3 separate regions of the Homo sapiens genome follow, and all the other regions are linked to region 1. The links are contacts of gene promoters, found by promoter capture Hi-C in human tissues and cell types (Jung and others, 2019). All regions are on one chromosome and are shown on one strand. Each heading gives the region's core, a stretch centred on a gene start or on the middle of the fragment in contact. The rest is flanking DNA. Distances are from core to core; before and after follow the strand shown.

Region 1 (3,413 bases), core at 291-2,790:
ACAGCAGCCCATCCCCGGGACCCAGAGGGCAAGGGGAGGACCGGGCCGAAGAGCGAGGTCTGGGCAGGGTGAGGTGCCAACTTCTCAGGGGGTCGGGCGCGGCTGGCGAGCCCCGAGCAGGGAGAGGAGAGGGCCGCGCTCGCCGGGGCGCGCGGCTCGCGGGCGCGCAGAGCGAGCGGCGCCGGGAAAGGAGCGAGGGCAGGCGAGCAGGCTGGTGGGAAGGGGCGCGGGCGGCGGGGGCTATCCCCCCCGACTCACCTTGCGTTGGTGCAGTCATTGTAGAGGGTCTCGAAGTCCTTCCTGGAGATGAGTTTGCAGCGGTTCACTCCTGGCTGGATGGCGCCCAGTCCCCTCAGGATGCGAACTTGTTCCACATTGCACACCACCGGCGTGATCTCCAGCCGCTTCAGCTTGGTGTAGACCGTATGCAAGCCCCCCACCAAGTGCTTCAGGAACAGGTCGAAAGCCTGGGGCAGGCAGATCAGCTCGCAGCCCTCCACCGTGAAGGAAGCCACTTTGGCCCCCCTCAGATCCACCATTTTGCACTCATTATTCTGAGGGGTGTTTTCCACTGGGGACGGGGTTGAGTACACGGGTTTCCCGGGGAGGGGGCCGCAGCTGCTGCTGCTACTGCTGCTGCTGCTACTACTGCTGCTGCTGCTGCTGCTGCTACTGCTGCTGCTGCTGCTGCCGGTGCTGGCGTTGATGGGGGTGCTGGAAGCGACGCCGCCGCCAGCGCTGATGCCGCCGCCGCCGCCGCCGCTGCCGTTGCTCGCGGCCGCCAGGTTGGGGTTGCAGTTGCTGCCACCGCCGCCGCCGCCACCGCCGCCTCCGTTGCCGCTGCTGCCGCCGCCGCCTCCGCTGCCGCCGCCGCCGCCGCCGCCGCCGGTAGAGGTGACTGTGGCCGCCGCCGCCGCCGCCGAAGCGATGGGCTCCGGGCGGAACAGAGTTGGCCCAGAGGACGCCGGGGGTCCGATGGAAGGAGCCGGAGACGAAGTCGCCGAAGAGGTGGAGGTGGTGGTGCCAGAGGAGGAAGCAGACGTGGAGATTGGGGGTTGAGGGGGGACCAGCTGGGTCGGAGGGATCAAAGCCGCCGGCACTGCCATGGTCACATATAAGGGGAAACAGACGGAGGAGAAGCGAGAGGAAAAGTTGCCACACACCCCCGGGAGGGGAAGGGGAAAAAAGGGGGGAGAAGGAGCGAGGGGGGCAACAACAACTCCGGGAGAGAACGAGAAGGAGAAAGGGAGAGAAGGGGGAGAAAAGGAGGTGAAGGTAATAAAGAGCGAGCGCAAGAGGGGCGAGCACGAGAGGCGCTCTGGAGAGGAACGCACAAAAGTGTCCCGCAAGTCGAAATGCGAGTCCTCTCCGGGGGCTGGGATCGAGGGCTGGTTTGGGGGTGGGGGTGGGGCGGGGAGGGTCGGCTGTTGTTGTGTGGGTCTCGCTCTAGCACAAAGTTAAGGATGAAGGTGAAAAGGAGGAGGTTTGAAGGACTTGGGCTCTCCCTGGCAAGTACATTGATCAAAGATTGAGAGGGGAATGACAGAGAGAAAATGAGCTGAAAAGTGCAGGCTGCCGGCTGGACGAGTTGTTGTTGTCACACGGTGCAGAGGGGAGGAGCTCCGGAAACTTGAAATACCCTTTGAAGCCGCAAAAACCTCACTCACTAGTATTAACCCAAATTATCCAACCAGGAACTCGGAGCAGAGACTCCGAGAGCGCGAGACACTGGAGAGGGAGCGTGCGAGGAAAGGAGGAGGGGAGGGGGAGGATACGGAAAGAAACTGTGGGAGGGACGGAGAGGAAAAGCCGGGGACACAGAAGTGGCGATCGGAAAAGGAGAGGGAGATCATCTACTTCTCTTCTACTACTACCGTTAGATTGCATGTCTCACATTCCATTTCGTCCGCGGGGACTGGTAATTTTTTCCAAAGCTTCTAAACAATCGCCCGCCAACTTAAAGAGGAGCCTGAGCGCGCCGAGCTCTCTCCTTCCAGGATTTAGGATCCATCTCCACGCGTTTTGGCAATGAGCTAGAAACGAAAACACAGCCCCCACTTCACGATTATTCAGAAATTATTTTGAGGAAAATTCACATGTAAGCAAAGCGTAATGTTCTTTTGCATCTGATTGTTTATTTCTCTACTAAATTATTTATTTATATAAAGATAGTGAAAATTCCAGGACAGTTTTCAAGTGGTGAGAAGAAAGTCAGTCCGAAATCGCTTAAGAATAATGGAAAGCTCTGTATTCAATTCCATATTTCCTAATAGGTTGTGGAAAGAAATGCTTGCCTTGATGTGGATGATTTAGAATAACTTCACTGTCTCCCCAAAAGCCAGTCAGAAATACCTGTTAAACCTAGAGCTATCAAGGAGATAAGGTATCCTTGAAGATTTAGAAAGTGGAAAAAGGGTTTTCTTACCCAAAACTCTATAATTAATTCACCTGTCTTACACAGTAACCAACTATCCTCATGTCCTTTAAGACCCAAAGCCAATTGCTAATGTGTTTTTTGGACAACACAATAGTTTTTTTTTTTTTTTTTTCATGTTTGAAAAGTGCTGCTGTAGTTTTGGAAAGTCCTTTTCAATTTGTCAGTAAATATATGTTTTGTAAATAATGGGAAGAACAAAAACAAAGCTCACTAGTTGACTTGTAAAGACTTGGGTAGCTGTGCTTAAAACAACATGAGGCTGAGTTTAGACTGACTCTATTCCTCCTTTCCTTCCTCTTTCCTTTTCTTTTCTTTTCTAACTTGTTGCACTGAAGTATTTATTCAAGGATTTTTGACTAACATATCATTTGAATATGGGTCAAATCTATTTGCTGCTCATGTCTCCAAGTATCTTCAATTAGTTAGCCTTTGAACCGGTCCACACATGTTCAGTAAGTTCATAAGATATGAAGCAATGCTTTAGCATTTGACAGATTTTTAAAATAAACTGTTAGTAGCAGGTTCACAGGGTTGGGAAATTTTATAATAAAATTTTTGCCATTCTGGTGTTGAAATGATCACATTTCTCTATATCATTTTAAGCCTTTGAACTCTGTGAATCGCAGTGTCAAATAGTGCAGGAACTGTCTACCGAAAAATAGAAATATGACACTATGGACTAATTAGTGTATGATTATACTAAAATTTTTGGGACATAGCAGTTAAATCAGGAGGCTTTCCTGGGAGATAAGAATTCAGAAAATCGATTGTTGCAGAAAAGTCCATGAACTTCTGCAAGGACAACTAAAGTTTAAACAGTTGTTTGGCCTGGTTAACCAATGTATTGTAATACATTCAGAAATAATTTTTATTTATGTTTCAGTCTTCAAATTTGTTATGGGTAAAAGTAGGAATTCAATATATATCACATACATCAAAACACTTCCTTAAGTATTTTTGCATGTTTTAGAAAATA
Region 2 (3,413 bases), core at 326-2,825, 63 kb before region 1:
AAAATAAAACAAAAATTTTATTCTTTATATTAATATAAACTGAAGAATATAAACAATTTTAGTAAGAGGATATGTTTAAATCAAAACAAAGAAGGTCTAATAACTAAAAGAGTTGCAGGCTTTTGTGAATAATGAAAACAAAATTAATTTGCAATAAAAAATATACCATTGTTTTCAGAGTATGAGACAAACACACTCAAAATGCAAAACGACTGTAGTGATTATAGATATGCTAAAAGTTTGGTTGTATTAAAAGCTCACACATACACATCTACAAACCAAGGAATATGTGAACCAAAAATTTAGAAACTGTTCAGAGAAGCAGTAATAATTGTGATTTAATTGTGTAGGTTTAAGCAAACAGTTGGCAAAAACAAAGTCCTTCTGCTTCCAACATTTACCCAGCGTTTATAGAAAATAAACTTTTCTCATTATATACAAAATGTTTGTCATAATAACTTGTGGGTAAAATTTCAAAGTGTATGAACATATTAAGGTTAATCTCTTAAGTCCTATTTTGAAATGTTCCTAAAACAAAGGCACATCAATAAAAAGTATTTATGGGAACAAGATACCAATTTAATATCTGAAAGCATTTTTGAACAAACTAAAACTTTGAGCCCAACATTTGCATGATTTCTGATATGCTGAAGATGTGTAAGATTCCTGGTAGTGCTTTAACATCCTGTTTAGCAATTTCATTACACAACTAGATTCTTAACAAACACCCTCTCTAACAGTATGATAACATTTTACAAGTAAACTGTTCATGTATATTTTTTGATGCGTTTAACTAGGATAGTTACTAAAGAATTGGAACTGTCACTTCTTTATTTGAACATTTTAAAACTTATATTTACAAATTTTAAACCGAAGTATATTCTTGTTTATATGCGACCAAGTTCAAGCATTTGCCCATGATTGTAAATTTGCAAATTTCTCAAGCTTAACAATTGTAACTACTACATATATGAATAAATATTCCTCACATAGACAACTTACCCTTATATTTTGAAGTCTCTACTTAAATTTTCTAACTTTCTCATTCGAAAGCAAATTATGAAGAAAAAAATCATGACCCTATTAGACATTTATTTCGTGGAAAAAGCTTTAAGTTTTCTCACAATTTATAAACATGGAATCAGGCTTAAATCAGCTCACAAAGAAATAGTAAGTTTGTATTTCCCTTCTATTCCTCCCATCTATTCACTATCAATGTAATCTAGCAATGAAAACGGGCTGATATCTCAGCACCTTCTCTTTCCTCTCTTTAAAATCAAGCCTTAAGGCATTGGATCTTGCTAGATTCTTAGACATCTTGTCATGTGTTTGTGCCTAGGACTGGGTATTTGAAAATAAACCACTATGAAATATAATTAGGTACTATGCTGAGAAGGCTACAGGTGTACAGGAGGAACAGATTGGCTTTTTATTTCCCCTTTAAAAATATATGCTACAAAGCTGGGTGTAGTGGCTCACATAGGTAATCCCAGCACTTCGAGAGGCCAAAGTGGGAGAATTGCTTGAGCCCAGGAGTTAGAGACCAACCTGGGCAACATAGCAAGACTCTAACTCTACAATAAATTTAAAACGTAGCTGGCCGTGGTGGCATGCACTTGTAGGTACTTGGGAGACTAAGGCAGGAGAATTGCTTGAGCCCAAGAAGTCAAGGTTGCAGTGAGCCATGTTCGTACTACTGGACTCCAGCCTCGGCAACAGGGTGAGACCTTGTCTCAGAGAAGAAATACATAATACATGCTACTATAGGAGACAGCAGCTATGGGAGAATGCACCCAAGACATTCCTCCCCATCATCTTCCTTCTCTTACCACTGCGACCAGTGTGATTCTGGCATCAAACCTCTCTCCTGGGCCACTTTATAACCTCCTATTTCACCTCCCTACATCTTTAGAGATTGATTCTCTTATGTCCACTAAATATTTAAGACTTCTTTGCTTACCGTATTTAGGCCCTAGCCAATATTCAAGGCTCTTCTTTCTTGACCCTCTAGCTAAATCTTATTACTCATTAGCTACATGATTGGACCTCTTCTTGCCAAAGCGCTGCATTTGCTCACAAAGTTCCCACCCTCTGGAATGCCATTAGCTCCACCTGTTAAGGTACTAGTCAAAGTTTGTCTACATTTCTGTTTCCATAAACCTTTCTCTTCCATCATAAACTAGAATTGATCTTTCCCCACTTTTTGCTTCAATATGTTCTTTCAAGGGGTTTAGTCTATCTAAAATCTTTTTCAACATCCTGACTTGTATTATTAATTATTTACCTACATATTTATATCTTATCTTACCTACCGTATGAGAAGTATTTCACGTTTGTTTGCTTTGTCTTCTCTGGAACACAGAACACAGTATTGTACCCTTCATGTTATGGATCTTCACTGTGCAATACAGTAGCCAATAGCTACATGTGTCTATTTAAATTAAAATTAAGTAAATTTTAAAATTTAGCTCTTCAATTATACTTGCCACATTTCAAGTGCTCAATACTCACATGTCAGTAGCCACTGAACCAAATGGGGCGTAGAATATTTTTAATTTCAGAGAAAGTTTTATCATCAGATAGCTAGATTGTAAAGAGTCAATAACCTTACAAAGGTTTATACATTTGTATACAATTATCATCAAAGTACCAGGACATGACTAGAAAACAAGGAGGGAATCTTGATGGCTACTTTCTTGATGGTTTTGAGGACAACCACCAAAATCTATGAGACGCAAACACTCAACTACATTCTCTGGGAGGTTTCGGTTGCCTCAAAAGAGTCAACATTTTCTATTCCCATTATGTTTAAAAATGAACCCAGCTAAGCCAGGACAATTTTTTGATATTTCATATGTAATTCATAGTGGTTAAGGAAATTTATATGGCAATTGTTTTGCAGAAGCTTTAATTCACACTTTCAATATTTAAAAAGCCTGCTGTCACGGCTGGTAGGAATAAAATTAAACCCACCAGCTGTGGTTTGTTTTTTGAGGAAAACACATAACATTTTATTTTTGCATTGTCTGTCATCCTTGTAAATGTCAGAAATATAGAACTGAAATGCACTGAATCCCCTGGTTTACCGTTAGAGTCTTCTGAAAATGCTTAGTATTTTAATTAGACAAATATTTTAGCAATAATTAGGAGGAGGTTTTATTTTAACAGTGATACAAAGCACAGCTTTTATATTTGCTTGGAGAAAGAAATGCGATAATAATATTCATTTGAATTCTTTTTTTTTGAGATGGAATCTAGCTCTGTTGCCCAGGCTGGAGTGCAGTGAGTGGCATGATCTCATCTCACTGCAACTTCTACCTCCCGGGTTCAAACGATTCTCCTGCCTCAGCCTCCCGAGTAGCTGGGATTACAGGCTTGTGCCACCATGCCCGGCTAACTTTGTATTTTTAGTA
Region 3 (3,413 bases), core at 409-2,908, 33 kb before region 1:
AAAAAATAAGTGTTTCGATTTTTGTTTTTAATGTAAAAAGCAGAAAAAGTTAAACTAAGAAAATGTTTTAATAGTAAATTTTCATAAAATAAGTTGCAATCTCCATTCTTGTCAAAAAATGGCTGTAGATGACTAAAACTGATGTTGAATATTCCCAAATAGAAAATTATACTTAAAAATCAAGTAGATCATAGCTAGAGTTAGAACTACCTAAATTTTTTTTGTTATTATAGAAGAGGAACTTGTTCAAATGATAGACCTTGATCAATTTAGCTTCTCAAAATAAGACATCTTCTACTACTGGAAATGTAAAAATGTAAGAGAAGGCATGATATCCAGCCACCTAGGTTCAATTAAAGCAGTTTGTTTCATTTTGTTTATTCTCATTTCAATTGTATTTAAGTTAAATGACCAAGCCAACATTAAATTGCTTTGTTTTTATATATAGATAACTCCTACTATTCTAAAAAGAGGAGTAATTAATTTATCTCTATTTTTCCTCTTTTTTGAGAGAAGACAATTAAGTAAAACAATCTGAATTCCACTCCCTACTTTTTTATTTTTATTTTTATTTTTAATGAAATCCATATAGCTTCAGAAAGACGCTAACAGGGAAGTTGCGCTCCCTTCAGAATCTTCTGAGATCTATGTGAATAGAACGTTTTGAAAGCTACAAGAAGAGAAAACATTTTGTAAGAGAGAGCCAACATTGATGTAAAAGAATCCTAGTGCATCAGATTCATCTGTAGCACCTGGGCTAGGAGTATTAGGGATGCTCAGTGAGAAATACCTGCCCCAGGACCCACTGAGGGATGGGTTCTATGGTCCAGTGGATGTAGGTCACTTTCACCCAGATACAGAGCTAGGTTATTTAAAGAGGCTCATGAAAGTCTCATAGTTTCATCCTTTTTATTTTGTTTATCTTTGTTTATAAAGAGAATAAACAAATTTAAACTAAATTTTGTTTGAAAGCATCCGTTAACCTAATTTGTACACATTACTACTTGAAGTATAAGTGGAGAGAATGATGGAAAACAACGATGTTGATAGACTAAAACAGAGATTTATAAACATATTGTGTAGCATCATAATTTTTTTTACAGTATCCTAATTTCAGGTGGGAGTGATAATGTTGGAACTTAACTATTCCTGAACTTGTATGAATATCACAATTCAGAGCCCACACCAACTATGGGATTTGGTGACACAGCCTGGGTACTTTATAAGCTTTTTTGATTTATAAGAGTATTCATTCATCTAAACTTTTATAACTAAGAGCAGTGAGAGACGCCACTTAAAGACCTTCGACAGTGTCATGCAGTTTTGCCTAGGATGGCTTTGTGAAGCTAAAATAAAAAAGTGTCTTAAAATGTTTTAATAGTAATTGATACAATAAATTGTAATCCCTAGTTTTGTCAAAACTACAATTTATTAACTAGCATAAATAAGTAAAACGTAGATTAATTCTCTGAAATAGCACAAGATATTTAAAATTCAAGTACACCCTATCTAGGGTTGGAACTAACTGATCCTCATCTTTTTATTCATCAGTATAAGTAATTTTGAAATGATGATGAAAAAAATGTTTAACTTTACAAAAGTATGGACACACTGGTAGTCATAACAAATACGTCAAATGTTCCTTTGTTTCCAGGAGGTAACCTACCATTTACCTTCTCCAAGGACTCTTAATAAAATGGACAGAAAAAATCAATTAAAGTAGCGAAATATCCCTTAGGATAAAGTTACTTCAGCAGTCAGTGCACTTCTCAGTAATCTCTTTATCTTGTGCTGAAGTAATACACATTTGTGCCATGTTTTTAAGTACTATATTTTTCATAATGAAGCTATTTAAAACTGAGCAGTGGAAAGAGAATGGGTGCTGATACAGCAAACGTTATGATATAAAAACAGGGTTATGAGGGAAGCACACACCAGAAATGGAAAACGTGATTAGAAGCAAAATGGATGATGCAAAGGTTCTCATATAACACGCCCGTGAAGTAAGACCCCAAATATCTACCTAATCTCCACTATCTAGAGCTATTGTGCCCAAGAGCACCTCTGAAATACTATTATGGGACATTATTTCTGGAATCACTATCTATATAAAAGAAAGTAGTCCCATGAATGAAGTCAGAACTTGAAGAATTCAGCATAGAATTCCACACGCTTTTTAACGGCTCTGTTGCCTCGCCGCACCCCGCTGTAGCCTATGTTTGACCAATTCTCTCATTTTATAAAGGGTGGACCCACCTTAACATTTAAGTGGCATCTGATGCACTACTTAAATTGGTTTCGTTTTCCCATTTCAAAAATTGGGACTTTAATACGATATTGGGAATAATACCCATTTGAGATCAAAGAAATCATGTGCACATTTTTGCATTGGGAATCAGAGAAGATGCATAATTTTTGGAAGCTGAATAGATACCCACATATTTGTCGGCATTCTGAAAATCCCAGGCATTGCATTTTTACCTCTGCTTTTTCTACTTCTCCCTTTTCCCACATTTGTCTTTCTCTCAGTGTTTGTCCATGTGCAGGGAGAGAAATTTAGTGTTGAGGCTCAGCCCAGGAATTTGCCAAACAGATAAGAAGACAGAAAAGCAAGCTTGCCAAAATTTTTCCCATTTCTCCTCAACTCCCCACCAAAATTCATTGTTCTTCCTACATATTTGCTGGTGAAAACTTTGGAAATGTTGGCTCAGAGAGTCACAATAAGACCAAAATAGACCAAAGGGAGCTGTTTGAAATGGTAACCACCAGTCTGTTAGAAAAGAAACCGGCCTGTTCACTTAATGAATAAAATACCTAGAGCTTGCCAAGGCAAATAAAGGCTTGTTTACTGAGATGTATACAAATACAAGAAACAGAGCAAAAGGACTGGAAGAAGTAAACTAAAGAAAAAATATTGTATGGAGAAGTCTGAATTAAAATGAGCTTTCAATCAATTTTGCAATCACTGTCATTCATGAGAAACTCTGTAATGCTTATTAAAATGAAAATAAAACAACAAGGGTAAGAATCCTGTTCTCTTGGCCTGCCTCCAAGTAAGGTAATTTTGTCTTGTCTCCTAAAATTATCCCAGAGGTAAAAATTATCTCAGACTTTTTAAAAACTGCTCATCTCTAAGCTACTGGTGATTGATCCTTTATGTATTGGTGAAAAAAAGAGGCCCTATTGGTCCATGACTGTATATATCCCCATTTGCCCATGATAGTCCTAGTTTATACCTATTGTCCCAACAGAATTAGTAATATTGTTTCTGTTTATTCTCAAGAGTGTCCTAGTTCGGCTAATTAATTTTATGGTTACCTTATCTATGCCACTCTGAAGGAATGAAAGAAGTGATGAAAGTCAATCTTCTAGCAAACAACAACAAAAAAATCACTTTAAAGAAGTTTACATTA

The links. Contacts are between HindIII fragments. The study calls those that stand out against the background at their distance.
Region 2: a fragment that was not itself captured here is called in contact with the fragment with the promoter of DACH1 in region 1 in 1 of the 25 tissues and cell types used here (hippocampus).
Region 3: a contact is called between a fragment that was not itself captured here and the fragment with the promoter of DACH1 in region 1, in 1 of the 25 tissues and cell types used here (pancreas).

Annotation. Positions count from the first base shown.
Region 1 is chr13:71,865,664-71,869,076 of GRCh38, forward strand. It overlaps DACH1 (dachshund family transcription factor 1), which reads right to left and starts at 1,541. Exons shown (of 11, transcript NM_080759.6): 1 at 259-1,541. The coding sequence starts at 1,106. The HindIII fragment of the contact is 6,446 bases long and covers 1-3,165 here.
Region 2 is chr13:71,802,578-71,805,990 of GRCh38, forward strand. The region is part of intron 1 of DACH1 (dachshund family transcription factor 1); the gene reads right to left. Among named protein-coding and RNA genes, the nearest start is that of DACH1, 63 kb to the right of the region's middle. The HindIII fragment of the contact is 4,518 bases long and covers 1-3,413 here.
Region 3 is chr13:71,832,421-71,835,833 of GRCh38, forward strand. All of the region lies in intron 1 of DACH1 (dachshund family transcription factor 1), which reads right to left. Among named protein-coding and RNA genes, the nearest start is that of DACH1, 33 kb to the right of the region's middle. The HindIII fragment of the contact is 3,444 bases long and covers 1-3,380 here.